Regions from separate parts of the Homo sapiens genome. Here region 2 is linked to region 1. Evidence: promoter capture Hi-C in 16 types of primary human blood cells and fetal thymus (Javierre and others, 2016). All regions are on one chromosome and are shown on one strand. The core of a region is centred on a gene start or on the middle of the fragment in contact, and the rest is flanking DNA. Distances in the headings are between cores, read along the strand shown. Region 1 holds the start of NEPRO-AS1 (NEPRO antisense RNA 1). Region 2 holds the start of SIDT1 (SID1 transmembrane family member 1).

What was found. The method cuts DNA at HindIII sites, captures the fragments that hold promoters and counts their contacts. A CHiCAGO score of 5 or more calls a contact.
Region 2: the fragment with the promoter of SIDT1 here is called in contact with the fragment with the promoter of NEPRO-AS1 in region 1 in 1 of 17 cell types (activated CD4 T cells); the score reaches 5.1 in activated CD4 T cells.

What each region holds. Positions count from the first base shown.
Region 1 is chr3:113,016,934-113,023,482 of GRCh38, reverse strand. NEPRO-AS1 (NEPRO antisense RNA 1) reads right to left here and starts at 3,965. Exons shown (of 3, transcript NR_186663.1): 1 at 3,777-3,965. RMP64 (ribonuclease MRP subunit p64) reads left to right here and starts at 3,812. Exons shown (of 9, transcript NM_015412.4): 1 at 3,812-3,941; 2 at 5,881-6,035. The coding sequence starts at 3,836. RefSeq lists a silencer at 4,024-4,133 and an enhancer at 4,294-4,363. The HindIII fragment of the contact is 8,907 bases long and covers 1-4,975 here.
Region 2 is chr3:113,529,519-113,536,067 of GRCh38, reverse strand. It overlaps SIDT1 (SID1 transmembrane family member 1), which reads right to left and starts at 3,513. Exons shown (of 25, transcript NM_017699.3): 1 at 2,825-3,513. The coding sequence starts at 3,046. RefSeq lists enhancers at 2,622-2,751, 3,222-3,551, 3,692-3,881, 3,902-4,121 and a silencer at 2,902-2,951. The HindIII fragment of the contact is 7,487 bases long and covers 1-6,549 here.

The sequences.
Region 1 (6,549 bases), core at 2,716-5,215:
AAGTGCTCCAAAATGCCAAACTTTTTGAGTACTGACATGATGATACAAGTTACCCTGAACACATTAATTTTCACTGTATTAATGGTATATCATTTTTTTTACTATTAAGCACATATGTGTGAATAAGAGAAAAAAATGGTTGCTTAACAGCAGCATATAGGCTGGGTGCGGTGGCTCACACCTGTAATCCCAGCACTTTGGGAGGCCAAGGCGGGCAGATCACAAGGTCAGCAGATCGAGACTATCCTGGCTAACACAGTGAAACCCCGTCTCTACTAAAAATACAAAAAAACATTAGCCAGACATGGTGGTGGGCACCTGTAGTCCCAGCTACTCGGGAGGCTGAGACAGGAGAATAGTGTGATCTTGTGAGGTGGAGCTTGCAGTGAGCCGGGATCGTGCCACTGCACTCCAGCCTGGGCAACAGAGTGAGACTCTATCTCAAAAAACAAACAAACAAACAAACAAACAAACAAAAAAACAGTAGCATATAAATTCAGAGTCAGGAATGATGTTGACACCAAACAACCACAGACTGTCCACATGGGTGATTGAGATGTACACAAACTTTGTTTCATGCACAAAATTATTAAAAATATTACATAAAAGTTTCTTCAGGCCATGTGTTTAAGGTAGATATGAAACATACATACATTTCATGTTTATACTTGGGTCCCATACCCAAGATATCTCATGTATATTTGCAAGTATTCCAAAATCTAAAAAAAACCGGAAATCTGAAACAATTTTGGTCCCAAGCATTTCAGATAAGGGACACTCTCCACCCATGCTAGACATCTAAATAAGTCATACTGTCTATATCCAGTAGAAATGCTTGAAGGTTTGGGTCTGCATCATTTCTGGCCTTAGCTTTTGTAATAGAACAGATGGGCCTGGTCTCCTTACTTCCAACCTCTTCTCTCCCAAATCTGTTCTCCAGGGTGCTCTTCTTCTGAGGCAAGCTGACAAAAATTGCTCTGCCTAAGACTCAGTGAGTGACTCCTTTATCACCTATAGCAAGGACACGTCAACCTAGAGTACCATCACAAAGACCTTTTCAAAACAGACCTACTCAGAACTAATGAGTAAGAATTTTCAAGTGGGACCTGAAAATCTCTATTTTTAAGTTATCCAGGCAATTTTGATAATCAGCCAGGTTTCTGAACTACTGGTCTTCAGGTAAAAAGCCAAATTCTTCCCATGATCTGACTGACACCACTATTCCCAGCTCCACCCCTCAGCACAAATCACGTCCCAGCAGTACCAACTCAGGACTAGTGATTCTTCAAACCCATGCTGCTTAAAACCTCTCTGTAGGAATATCCTTTTTCCTTTAACTGCCTGGGGAGTTCCTATTCATCCTTCAAAAGACTCTATTCAAGCATCATCCAACCTCATATACAGCCAGTAAATATCTACTGAGGCCCTACTATATGCCAGGCTCTGAACTAAGCATTGAGATAGAAAGACCAGTTAGCTATGTCAATGGTAGTTCTCGCTTTCAGTAGGTTCATATGCCATTGGAGAAATAGACATGAAAGTAAACAAAGAAATACAATAAAGCGAGGTAAATTCTGTGAGAGAGGCTGTGGTAGGCTGAATAAAGATCCCTCCACCTCCCACCCAAAGATGTTCACATGCTAATTTCCATAATCTGTAAATATGTTACCTTGCACTGAGAAGGGATTTTGTAGCTATATAACCTTGAGATTTCAGCTGCTTGAGATTTCAGCACCCCAGCATTTTTGTGTGTGTGTGTGTGTGTGTGTGTGCATGAAATAATGAAAATTTTGAACAGGCCCTTGCTTGCTTGTACATGTTAACCACTCGCTTTTTGCCCAGTATTCCTTGTTCCCACAATGTAATTATAAACTGCTGATGTACTGTTTCTTTGTCAAGCAGAAGGAGATAACTTCAGGGTCATAAGAATAGTTTGCAGAAGGAATGAATTCCTGGAAGGACATTGCAACCAGCTGCCATGTACATACGGCTGCACAAGGTGTTACCTGAAATGGAAGAAACACAGACTTTTCCCTTGGATTCCTTGAAACTCCCTCTCCATTACTCTCTAGCTCCATAAAAACTCCCTGCTTCTTTTTTGTTACTGTGGATCTGAGAGATCTTGCTCTCTTGCCCTCTAACTTTGGTCAAATCGAATAAATATTTCTCTGTCTCCAAGCACCAGTATCTCAATATTTGGCATCAGCTGCCCATCGGGTACATGAGCCTGAATTTGGAGTTCTAAAACAGATGTGATTAAGTTAAAGATTCTGAGATGGAGTGACTATCCTGATTATCTTGATGGGCTCAATGTAATCACAAGGGTGTTTTTAAGAGGGAGGCAGGCAGGAGGGTGAGAGAGACAGAGGAAGAGGAGGAGACTGAAAAATGTCATGCTGACAATGAAGGTGGAGGATAGTGAAATGAGCCAAGGAATGAAGGCAGCCTCTAGAAGCTGGAAAAGGAAAGGAAATGAATTCTTCCCTAGAGATTCCGGAAGGAACCAGCCCTGCCAACTTCAGTCCATTGAAATTAATTTTGGACTTCTGACCTCCAGAAATGTAAAATAACTTCTACTTATTTCAAGCCATTAGGTTTGTCGTAATTGGTTACAGCAGCAATAGAAAACTAATACATAGGCCAACATAGGGCACTGTGGTAACACATTAAAGGGGCCTCTGTATCAAGTTATGGAGTGAGGACGGGGTGTTTAGGAAGAATTACCCCAAGTGACGACCCCAGAGCTGAGGAAAGGAGATTGTGTTTCCGAGGATGACCCAGGTAGAGTAGGTAGATGTGTAAAGGCGCACAGAAAGAGCATGGAAAGTGTTTCAATAAAGTAAGACTGCTTGCATGAAATAGTAGTAATAACATCAACAATATTAACTATGGTAAATGTTCATTGTTTGTATGCCAGGAGTGCCTTGGCATTTTACAAGTCTGTGAGATTGATACTATTATTATCATCTTCATTTTACCCACAGGGATACTAAGGTCTGGAGGAGGAGGTAAGTAAATTTCCTGAGATCACCGAGCTAGTAAACAGCAAAGCTAGAACTAGAACCTTGGCAGTCTGTTTCCAAAACTCACTGTTTTTCTAATACGTTACTGTGGGAGTGTTAAGAACTTAAGGGGGCATTAGCATGGCTGAGGATAAATGAATTATTAGAAAGATATTAATGAGGTAAGGATCACTAGAGCTTGGAATATGATCTTGTCTTGGAGACTGACAAAAGTGGGAATGACTGACAGGTGTCTTCCAAGTTTCTTTGATGTGATCTCGGTTTTGCTGTGGTTCAAGACATAAAGGAGCCTTCCTTTACCACTCAAAGCAAATCACTGCTTCTTCGCTACAAATTCCACACCTTGCACAAACCTCTTCATTTCATTTCTTCCTTTTTCCCCTAATGTCTGAGGCAGAGTTGGGGGTAAAAGCACCAACTCAATTCTGGGCCTCATTTTCCATATTTGTAAAATGCCTAGAAGTATTTAACAGTTCCAAACTTGGTTGTGCTTCCGAATCCCCTGCGCTAAGTTTAAACAAAACGCAGATTCCTCATCGCATTCTCAGAGATTCTGTTGGTTAGTATTGGGATGGGGCCTTTTTTCCCCCATGATTCTACGCGGCCACGTGTTGGTAACCAATATACAGATGACTGGGTCCTTCCCAGTCCCACGCGTTTACTCGATGAAGGCAGCCTCCCGCCGGGCTCCTGGCCCCGCCCGAGCCCCACCCCCTGCTCCCTTCCGGCCCGGACTGGGTCCCATCGCCCCACCTCCGGTCGCTGGACGTGCTCTCGCGTAGCTCCGCCTTTCGTAAGTCCCCCCGCCTCGCATGATGGCTGCGGTGCCGCCGGGCCTGGAGCCGTGGAACCGTGTGAGAATCCCTAAGGCGGGGAACCGCAGCGCAGTGACAGTGCAGAACCCCGGCGCGGCCCTTGGTGAGTGAGGCGCCGGGCGAGGATGGGGGAACGTTTCCGGGGGAGGCCGCCAGGCCCAGCCGGCGCATGTGGGCGGGGGTGGTACCGGGACTTCCCGGCCCGGGGGACGCTGGGAAGGGGCGCGGGGCACGTAGGGGTCGAGCGGTCCCAGCACTTTGCTGGTGTAGCTTGTAGGGCCTCTGGCTTCGCATTCCTTCATTGAACCAGCTGTGCTAACCCAGGGCTTGGCTGGAGAGATGAAAGACCAAGGCTCAGCCGTGCGCTGAGGGGGCGGAGAGAGGTGGACTCAGCTGGTGCCGGGGAACAGTGCTGCCTGGGAACCCTTGCTCACCCGGGTCTTCGGAGTCTTGTTTACCCTTCCGTCCATTTCCCCTTTCCTTCTTTTTCCTGTACCCGAGGAGCGGTGGACGTCACCTAAGCACTGGGACTCAAACTGCAATCTTTTCGGACCTCTATCTGCTTATCTGTGAAATGGAGTTAGTCCTCCTACTCCTCACAGGGGCGTTGGGAATATCTAATGATGTAATTTAGGAGACAGTGCGCTGTAAACGACGGTGTTTTGCCACCTAAATGGGTGGTATTTGTTAGGGTGAAGGGCATATAGTAGGTAGGAGCCTGGCGCAGGAGCCAGGTTGTTTGGGTTTGAATACTAGCTCTACCCTTTGCTGGAGCTTGAAGGAGTCATTGAACCTTTCTGTGCCTCACTGATCTCACTTTCAAATGGAGATAAAAGCACCTTCCTCATAGGGCTGTTTGGGGGGATGAAAGAGTTGATAATGTAGAGAAAGCATTTGGAACACTGCCTGGCATGGTAAATGAACACTCAAATGGAAGCTGTTATGAATATTAAATACGTAGCTCCGGGGCCCAAGGGAGAGAATACAGTCATGGGTTCTTTGTTTCCGGTTGGGCTGGTAAAGCCCTTTCCTCATCCCTCTTTTCACTAGAGACAAACTAAAAACCATGGCTTTAAGCTGCAAAAAGCCTAAAACAAAACAGAACAGAACAACAAAATAAGGCGGGTTGGACAAGCTTGACTTAGATCATCACATCCCCTTTCCCATATATCCATCCTACACACTTTACAGATTATCCCATCTATCCTTCCTACACACTTTACAGATTAATCTTCCCTCTTTCTCTATTCAAAAATTCTTTAACAACTCCTATTAGGCCTGGGAAATTCACCAACTCACTACCCATCCCCGAGGCAGCCCATTCTGTCTTCAGGTAGTTGTTGGGACAGTAAGAAAATTCTTGTTAGGTAGCAACCAGCCTTTACTTCCATTTAGAATGCTAGTGCTGCCTTTAGAGCCATAAATAACACATGAACTACATCTTAGGGACTTCTACAGATTTTCAGACTAGGAAGCATCTGCTGATGAGCACCCGGTGTTCATCAAATAATACGATTTCCAGTTACTGTGGTGGTTTTTCTTTTCTGAATATGTTTGTGTCTCTCATAAAGTGATATCCAAACACAGAAGCCTTGATTTTGAAGACTGTGAATTTATTCATTCTGTCTTGCTTTCGGGCATAGCGACATGGGGAGTTAGAGAGTTATTACACATGTTGTGACATGTGCCCTACCTTCAAGGTGGGGGTTAAGTGTACACATGAGGCGTAAGTGTACACCAAATGACTGACAGCAAAGTATTCATATGAAAGATTATTAAACCATGATAAAATGCAATGCAAAGATACAGCTTCTTGTTTTACAGATGTTCTCTTAATGATTTCCTGGACTTTATATCATCTGTTACCATTTTCCAACTTCTCTTATACTTAGAATCCTTACGTTCTTACAGTTGAGACTGATTACATTAGTTTTTGATTCCTTTAAAACAAATAAGGAAAGATGCTTTTTTTAGTGTGTTTTTAATATAATATACTTACTGTAGAAATACATACTAAATCTTATTAGATGTCTCTGCTTCAGACCTTTGCATTGCAGCTGTAATTAAAGAATGCCATCTCGTCATACTGTCGCTGAAGAGCCAAACCTTAGATGCAGAAACAGATGTGTTATGTGCAGTCCTTTACAGCAATCACAACAGAATGGGCCGCCACAAACCCCATTTGGCCCTCAAACAGGTGAGGAAGCCCGGTAGGTGAGACCCAACCTGTTCACTTGAAAATGTAGATCACACTGCCACTTACTATATTGCTATTTATGGAAATCTCGTGGAAATCTCAGTAAATTACTTGTGTTTTATAGGCCTATAGCCCACAGTTACATGTGCACTTTCTTTTTTTTTCCTAAAAGCATTTCAGCATTTCAAAAAGTAATTTTTGTTAGAAAAGAAGTATGTTTAGATTCTTTCCCAGTCTTGTTTCTAATAGGCAAGTAAACATTTTCTTCATTATATACAATCTATAACAACAGTGCCTTTGCCCAGCTCAAAGATAAAGTGATTTGAGCAAGACAAAATGTTGGACATTAAGAAACAGTTCCCTGGGCATAATCAGAATGCTAAAATTATTTTTAAAAAAACTTGTCTACTTATTATGGGGTACATAATCTAATTGGTGGTATGTTAGAGTAAATGGGTACATAGCAAGTTGTGGTGTAAACTGGTTTCATGTAATGTTTGGAGCTTAAGACAAA
Region 2 (6,549 bases), core at 2,264-4,763, 510 kb before region 1:
TGATTTAATCTATCACCTATCTTGTGCTGTGATGTCATTCCTCTATGTTATTCCAAACCTTCAGTAAAATTCTGCTACATCCAACAGCCTTGTGTACCTGCAAGAAGGGGCTGCTGATATCTTATGCAGGATAAGAAGAACTAAGAAGAGAGTAGGAACCGAAGGTAATGGTTTGGACAGACAGATCAAGAAAATGTCTTCTCTGGAGAAAGCAACAGGAATACTGGCTGGTAGGACAGGAGGTTAATTTCCCACAATAAGTGGCTTTTGAGGGCTCCACTACAGCATTTGCATATTAAAGATTGGTCCCAGAAGGCTGTAAGATTTGAGGACATTTGGCTTATATTGAGAATACTGGCACTAAAATAATTGAAATTCTTGTTATCTCCTGTTCCCATGGTTCCCAACTTTGTATTTCTCAGACTAGTAATATTTTAACAAAAATTCTAGGGACTGCTTGGGTCATCAACCTTTTACTGTGTCATTCAAAAATATTTTCAAAACTGTTTCATAAAATAAAGGACATGTTAACACACACAGACAAAATAGGGCATAATAGAACAATTTTTAAAATGTGTTTTTATAAAAACCAAATTTGTTTTATGAAAGAAATTTGTTTTTATGTTTTTATCTGAAATGATCTCACATTTTCCAAACTATTGAATTGAAAACAGTATACATTTCATTTTATTTAGCCTTAGCTAATAACCCTTTATTCACTTATTTGTTCATTTTTGGAAAACACTAAATGTTTTTTATAAGCCTCTCTTTTCTTTAAAAAAAAAAACATTTTGAAAAAACAGGGTATCACTCTGTCCCCAGTGGGAGTACAGTGGCAAGAGCTCAGCTCACTGCAGCCTCAAATTCCTGGGCTCAAGTGATCCTCCTGCCTCCGCCTCCTAAGTAGCTGGGACTACAGGCGCATGTGCCATCACACCCAGCTAATTTTTTAATTTTTTGTAGAGAGAGGGTCTCATTATGTTTTCCAGGCTGGTCTTGAACTCCTGGTCTCAAGCAATCCTCCCACTTTGTCCTCCAGAGTGCTGGGATTACAGGTGTGAGCCATCATGCCTGGCTTATAAACCTCTTATGTGCCATTCACTGTGCTAGGTACTGGAGGGCAGAGATGAACATGACTTTGCCCCTGCCCTCAATATCTCAAGGTTTACTAGGGAAGTCAACCAGGTGATCTCAAGTGCAAAACTCACACAGTACAAGGGGAAAATGTAAAGGCAACAATTCATAAGTAGATGCTCTATCTCTATGCAGAACTGCAAGAAATACCAAAGCCTGATGTCAGGATTTACTTAGCACATGTAATTTGAGTTTTCTTACCAATGATTTAGGGGGAAGCTGAGACTTACTCCAGAGATCATGGAGTTTTCAGACTTTTTTCTGCTCCCAGCCAATCACAGGACTAGGAACACACCTCACGTGCAACATGTCAACCAGTCGATGAGTTCTCCCACGCTAGATAGAAAGAGGCTGGGTATATGGCGTTTGGGAAACAAAAACTGCAGCCTCTCCCTTGTCTACCATGAAATGGCTCTGCATACAGCCACTCTGCTCACTACAGAACATATAACCTGAAGGTTACTGGAGGACAGAGCAGGGTGAGGGCTGTGCTGCCATGGTAACAGTGCCATAGGATTTGGTGCCACACTGGAGATGGGGCACTCAGGGCACTTTCTGGCTACACACAGCTGGAAGATGTCTAGGAGCAGTGTTAGGCACATTGGTCCCCCCTGCTCAATACAAACCACCCTCACTTTGGGAAGTGATGAGGTTTTCTAGTTCCGATCTGGAGTGAGAATCAGACGGAGGCATATCATGGTATCCCAATCATCTAGTTCTGGAATTTCCCTAGAGGGTAGGGGATGCTGGTATAGTAAGGGATACATAAACACATTTATATGGGAAGAAGATCCAGAGGTTGGTACACTGGGGAGTCTCTGTCTCTGTCTCTGTCTCTCTTTCTCTCTTTCTCTCTCTGTCTCCCTCTCTCTCCCCGCCCAGTGCTCCAGAGGTACCACACTAGAGGAAAGAAATGAACTATATGCATCTTCTTACGTTATATAATCGGAGTATATATGTCAAAGGGATAGTCACTGGAACATTTTTCCCTCCTTATCTTCCCTCAACTTTTGTCAAAAATAGGTCTAGAACTTTCACACAATTATCCATCCTTATTTAAAATCAAAACCTGGATTGATCAGCTGATGGCTGCAGTTCTCACGTCTTTGCCCAGGTCTTCTGGCGTCTCTGAAGCACAACGTGTGACAATGGCACAAAAACGCAGGAAGTGACTGTTGAATGCACAGAGGTTCTGCAGCTTCCGTCCATTTTCACACAATTTCCATTTTAGATTCTGAGCAGTTCTCCCTCCCCATGCGCTATGAAATAGAAGGGTCTGGCTGAATCAGCCACTTGAAATTAGGTTTCTTCCCTGCAGGGGATTAGGAACCGAGGTGCGGTTCTTCTTCGCACTCCACACCACACCCCGCAACCCTAGAAATCAGGACTTTCCTGGAGAAAGACCCAGCAGGGACCCAGGACCCGCAGACGGTGCGGGGAACTGGTGCCTCTGCAAAGCCCAGCAATGCCCTTGACCAGGCCAGGAGAGGCGCGAGGCGAAGCAGAGTTGTCCCCGAGGCGTGTTGAGGCAGCTAGGGCAGGGCAGCGATTGCTTCGGAGGAGAAAGGGAAAGAAAGTCCCCTGGTCCCCGAAGTCTCCCAAGGTCAATTCCCAGGGGACTCCAAAGCAGCGACGGGGCTCTGAGATCTGGCAAGTTCTAGGAGTCGAGCGAGGGGAGCGAGTGTCTTACCTGGTCGGGCTGGCTGGTGTAGTTGAAAGAGTAGATGTTCTCGGTGCTGAGGTTCACCACCCCGCTGTAGACATGATCGAAATCGGCGCCCCTGGCAGCGTCGAAGGGGTCGCGGCGCGGTGCCGGGGGCTGCCTGGGGGATTTCGCCGGGTGCCCGGGCGACGCCGCCAGCAGGAGCCAGGGCAGCGCGCAGAGCAGCGCGAGCCGCAGGCAGCCGCGCATGGTGGGCACCGCGCCCGGGCTCGAAAGCGGAGCCACCCTGGGGAGGGGGCGAGCGCAGAGAGGGTCCTTCCAAAGCCCGGTGCAGGGCCAGGCGTCCGCTTCAGAGCCGAGCGGGTGATGCCTGGCGAACCCAGCCGGCCAGGGCTGGCAGCGTGCTGACGAAGGGCCGATCAAATACTGATGCTGCCGCCTGGGGTCTCCACTGGAGGTCACGGGTGGAGAGTAGGGCGGACTGGAGAAGTGGAGATGTGGGGCTGCTGATTTTCCTCCGGCTTCTAAGTCCCCCGTTTCTCATCGCCGAGAATCCCCCCACTTACCCAGCCAGAATTTAGACCGATCTCTTCTCCCTCAACCTCAATAACAGCAATAATAAAAAGGCATTGGAGTCATTAAAAAGAAATACCCGCTAGTCTCGAAAAGTCAACCTGACGCCACATCGAGGAGGAAATTCGGTCTGTTTCAAATACGTGTGCACCCTGGCTGCAGGAGAAGAAATAGAAAGCAAAAGAGCCCGTCCCCCAAGAGGGTGCGCGAGTTCGCTTTCCCAGGCTGCTACCTGCAGAGAACTCTTGCCTGTCTGAACGATAATTACTCTCTATTCTCCCCTCTCTAATAGAACCTCTCCTCAGACACCTGTTTTATTTCTTTATTACCTCCTACTCTCCATGGAGAGTCTCACGTCATCACGTTCTCTCCCTCACCATATGTGTATGTATGTAAATATGTACAGTTAAAAAAAAAAAGATATGGTAAAGAGAACAATTTCCAGCACTGCCTGAAGTCTGGTCCCGGAAGTTGTCAAAAAACGACTCAGACTAACTAGATTTATGCAGAAGGCATTTCTTTCCACCCCAGCCTCTTACCTACTTTACCATTGCAATGACTTCTTCCAGATTCTGAGAGAAACCCCAGGATTGTTTTTTTAAAGGCAGAAACCACAGCCTATCGTAAAAAGGAAATACTTTTCTGATAAAAATTAGGGGATTAGATTTAAAGAGTTAAAGAGGCAGGTAAGGAGCAGGGTGAGAATGGGGCCATCAGAAGACCTTGCAGAACATTGAACAATCACAATTTACGTGTGGAAGAGAACTCACTGTTTTATTTCAGCTTCATTACTGTATACTATAAAAGAATGTAATTGTGTTCAACCTGAAGGACCATTTAAAAAGAAGTCATTAAGAAGGAAAAGATCTTTTTCAAAAATTTAAGATTACAGATTAAAATCCTAGTCCTTGCCATCTTTAAAGAGATAGATTTGTTTTTGTTTTTACCTTGTCTAATTCCTTTAATTTCTTAAAACATCAAGAATGAATGCAATACATTTGTTGTAAAGTTTTCTGTGAAATCAGAAAACAATGCTGATGGAAGATTAAGTTAGTAGACTCCTTATTAGGACAATTTTCAGTTTTAAAGTTTTGAATGTTCTTGGCCAGGTGCAGTGGCTCATGCCTGTAATCCCAGCACTTTGGGAGGCTGAAGTGGGAGGTGGGCTAGCTTGAGGCCATGTGTTCATGACAAGTCTGGGCAACATGATGAAACCCCATCTCTACAAAAAATACAAAAATAGCTGGGCGTGGTGGTGCATGCCTGTCGTCCTAGCTACTTGGGAGTTGAGTTGGGAGGACTGCTTGAGTCCGGGAGGTCGAGGCTGCAATGAGCCGTGAACACCCCACTGCACCCCAGCTTGGATGACAGAGCAGGACCCTATCTCAAAAGGAAGAAAGGAAGGAAGGAAGAAGGAAGGAAGAAAGGAAGGAAGGAAGGAAGGAAGGAAAGAAAGAAATTTCTTGAAAATATATGGGTATATGGGCAAAAATACTAATTCAAAGGAGAGTCTGGGGGTAAAACTTCAAATAGAACTCACTGTTTTTGAGGAGCATAACGAAATAATTTCATCCAGAATTTGAATGACTTTAAACTGTTGTATTCAAAATATCTGTGCCTCTTTTCAAAGTTCAACAACATTTCATAAACTTGAAATCTACGAAGGTCCTGGAGGTTAGCTGGTGTGACCAGTTAAAGGAGTCTCTAGGATTATGGAGTTCTATTATGGCGTTCTTTTTAAACACTATAAGAGATGAGGAACTGGTTCTTTCACAAGTCAACACCTTCTTTTGGGGGCAAGTGTCTCATTATTAGAAAGACATTTCATATTCTTAGTTGAAATCTGCCTGTCTTCTACTCACTTGTACTAGTTCTGCCCTCTGGAGTCATAGGAATAAACCTAATACTTCTTCCACATGACAGACCTGTGGGTATTTAAATGGTGCTATGACCCTTCCTTCAAGATTTTATCTCAACTTTACGCAACTAAATTGGAAGCAAATGGAACAGATCCTTCATCATAGCATGAAACCCAAAATATTTATTTTAAAGCCATTTGTATGGATTATCTATACCTAACAATTTGAGTTATATATTACAAGTCACTCTGTAATATTATCTAATCCTTATTCTAGCCAAAAGTCATTCAGTGACCTCAAGTAATTAACCTCTCAGGATCACAAGGTTGTTGTAAGGATAAAAGGGAGAATGATGTATTTGAAAGTACATTAAAAAGTTTAAAGTGTTGAATGAACAAATACTGTTATGGTGTGACTGCTAGTTCAATAGCTAAAAAATAAAATGTGGTCCATTAGGTAGGTGGTTTTTTTCTTTATTTTTAAAAGGAATTTTATTTTAAATTTTTGTGGGTACTTAGTAGGTGTATATATGTATGGAGTATATGAGATATTTTGATACAGGCATGCAATGCATAATAATCACATCATGGAAAACGAGATATCCATCACCTCAAGCATTTATCCATAATGTTACAAACAACCCAATTATACTCTTTTAGTGATTTTTAAATTTACAATTAAATTATTATTGACTATAGCCTGTTGTGCAATCAAATACTACACCTTATTCATTCCATTTTTTGGTATCCATTATCCATCCCCACCTTCCTCCCCCAGCTCTCCCACTACCCTTCCCAGCCTCTGGTAACCATCCTTCTACTCTCTTTCTCCATGAGTTCAATTGTTTTGATTTTAAAGGCAGTTTTTTTTTTTTAATATCTACAATGTCAGGATTCTACTGTGAGAGACTAAATATGCAAGTGGGCAATGGCCAGACCATAAATAGCAATACAACTAACTCTGACCCACAGTTTCTGCAGCAATCAGCTCAGGAAACAAAAACACTTTAGCAGCAACCAGTCCAAGAAATCAAACTACAACTGCTGCAGCAAATGGCCCAAAAGAATTAGGTCTTGCTCAATGAGTCAATTTCCCCAATTTTTGCCCCTGCTTCCAACTTAGGATCAATCAGAGAAAGTTAAATATGCTTCCCAAACCACAAAATGCCCTGCTCCTACTTAGCCTGCCTCCAGCTTCCAACAGCAAGATCCAGTCAGAGCATACCTGAAACCTTCCCCTTTTATAACTATGAAGTTTTCTCACTCCCCTTCCTGCCTTTGAGTCTCTACTAAGCAGAAGTGATGGTGGTCAACTCCCTTG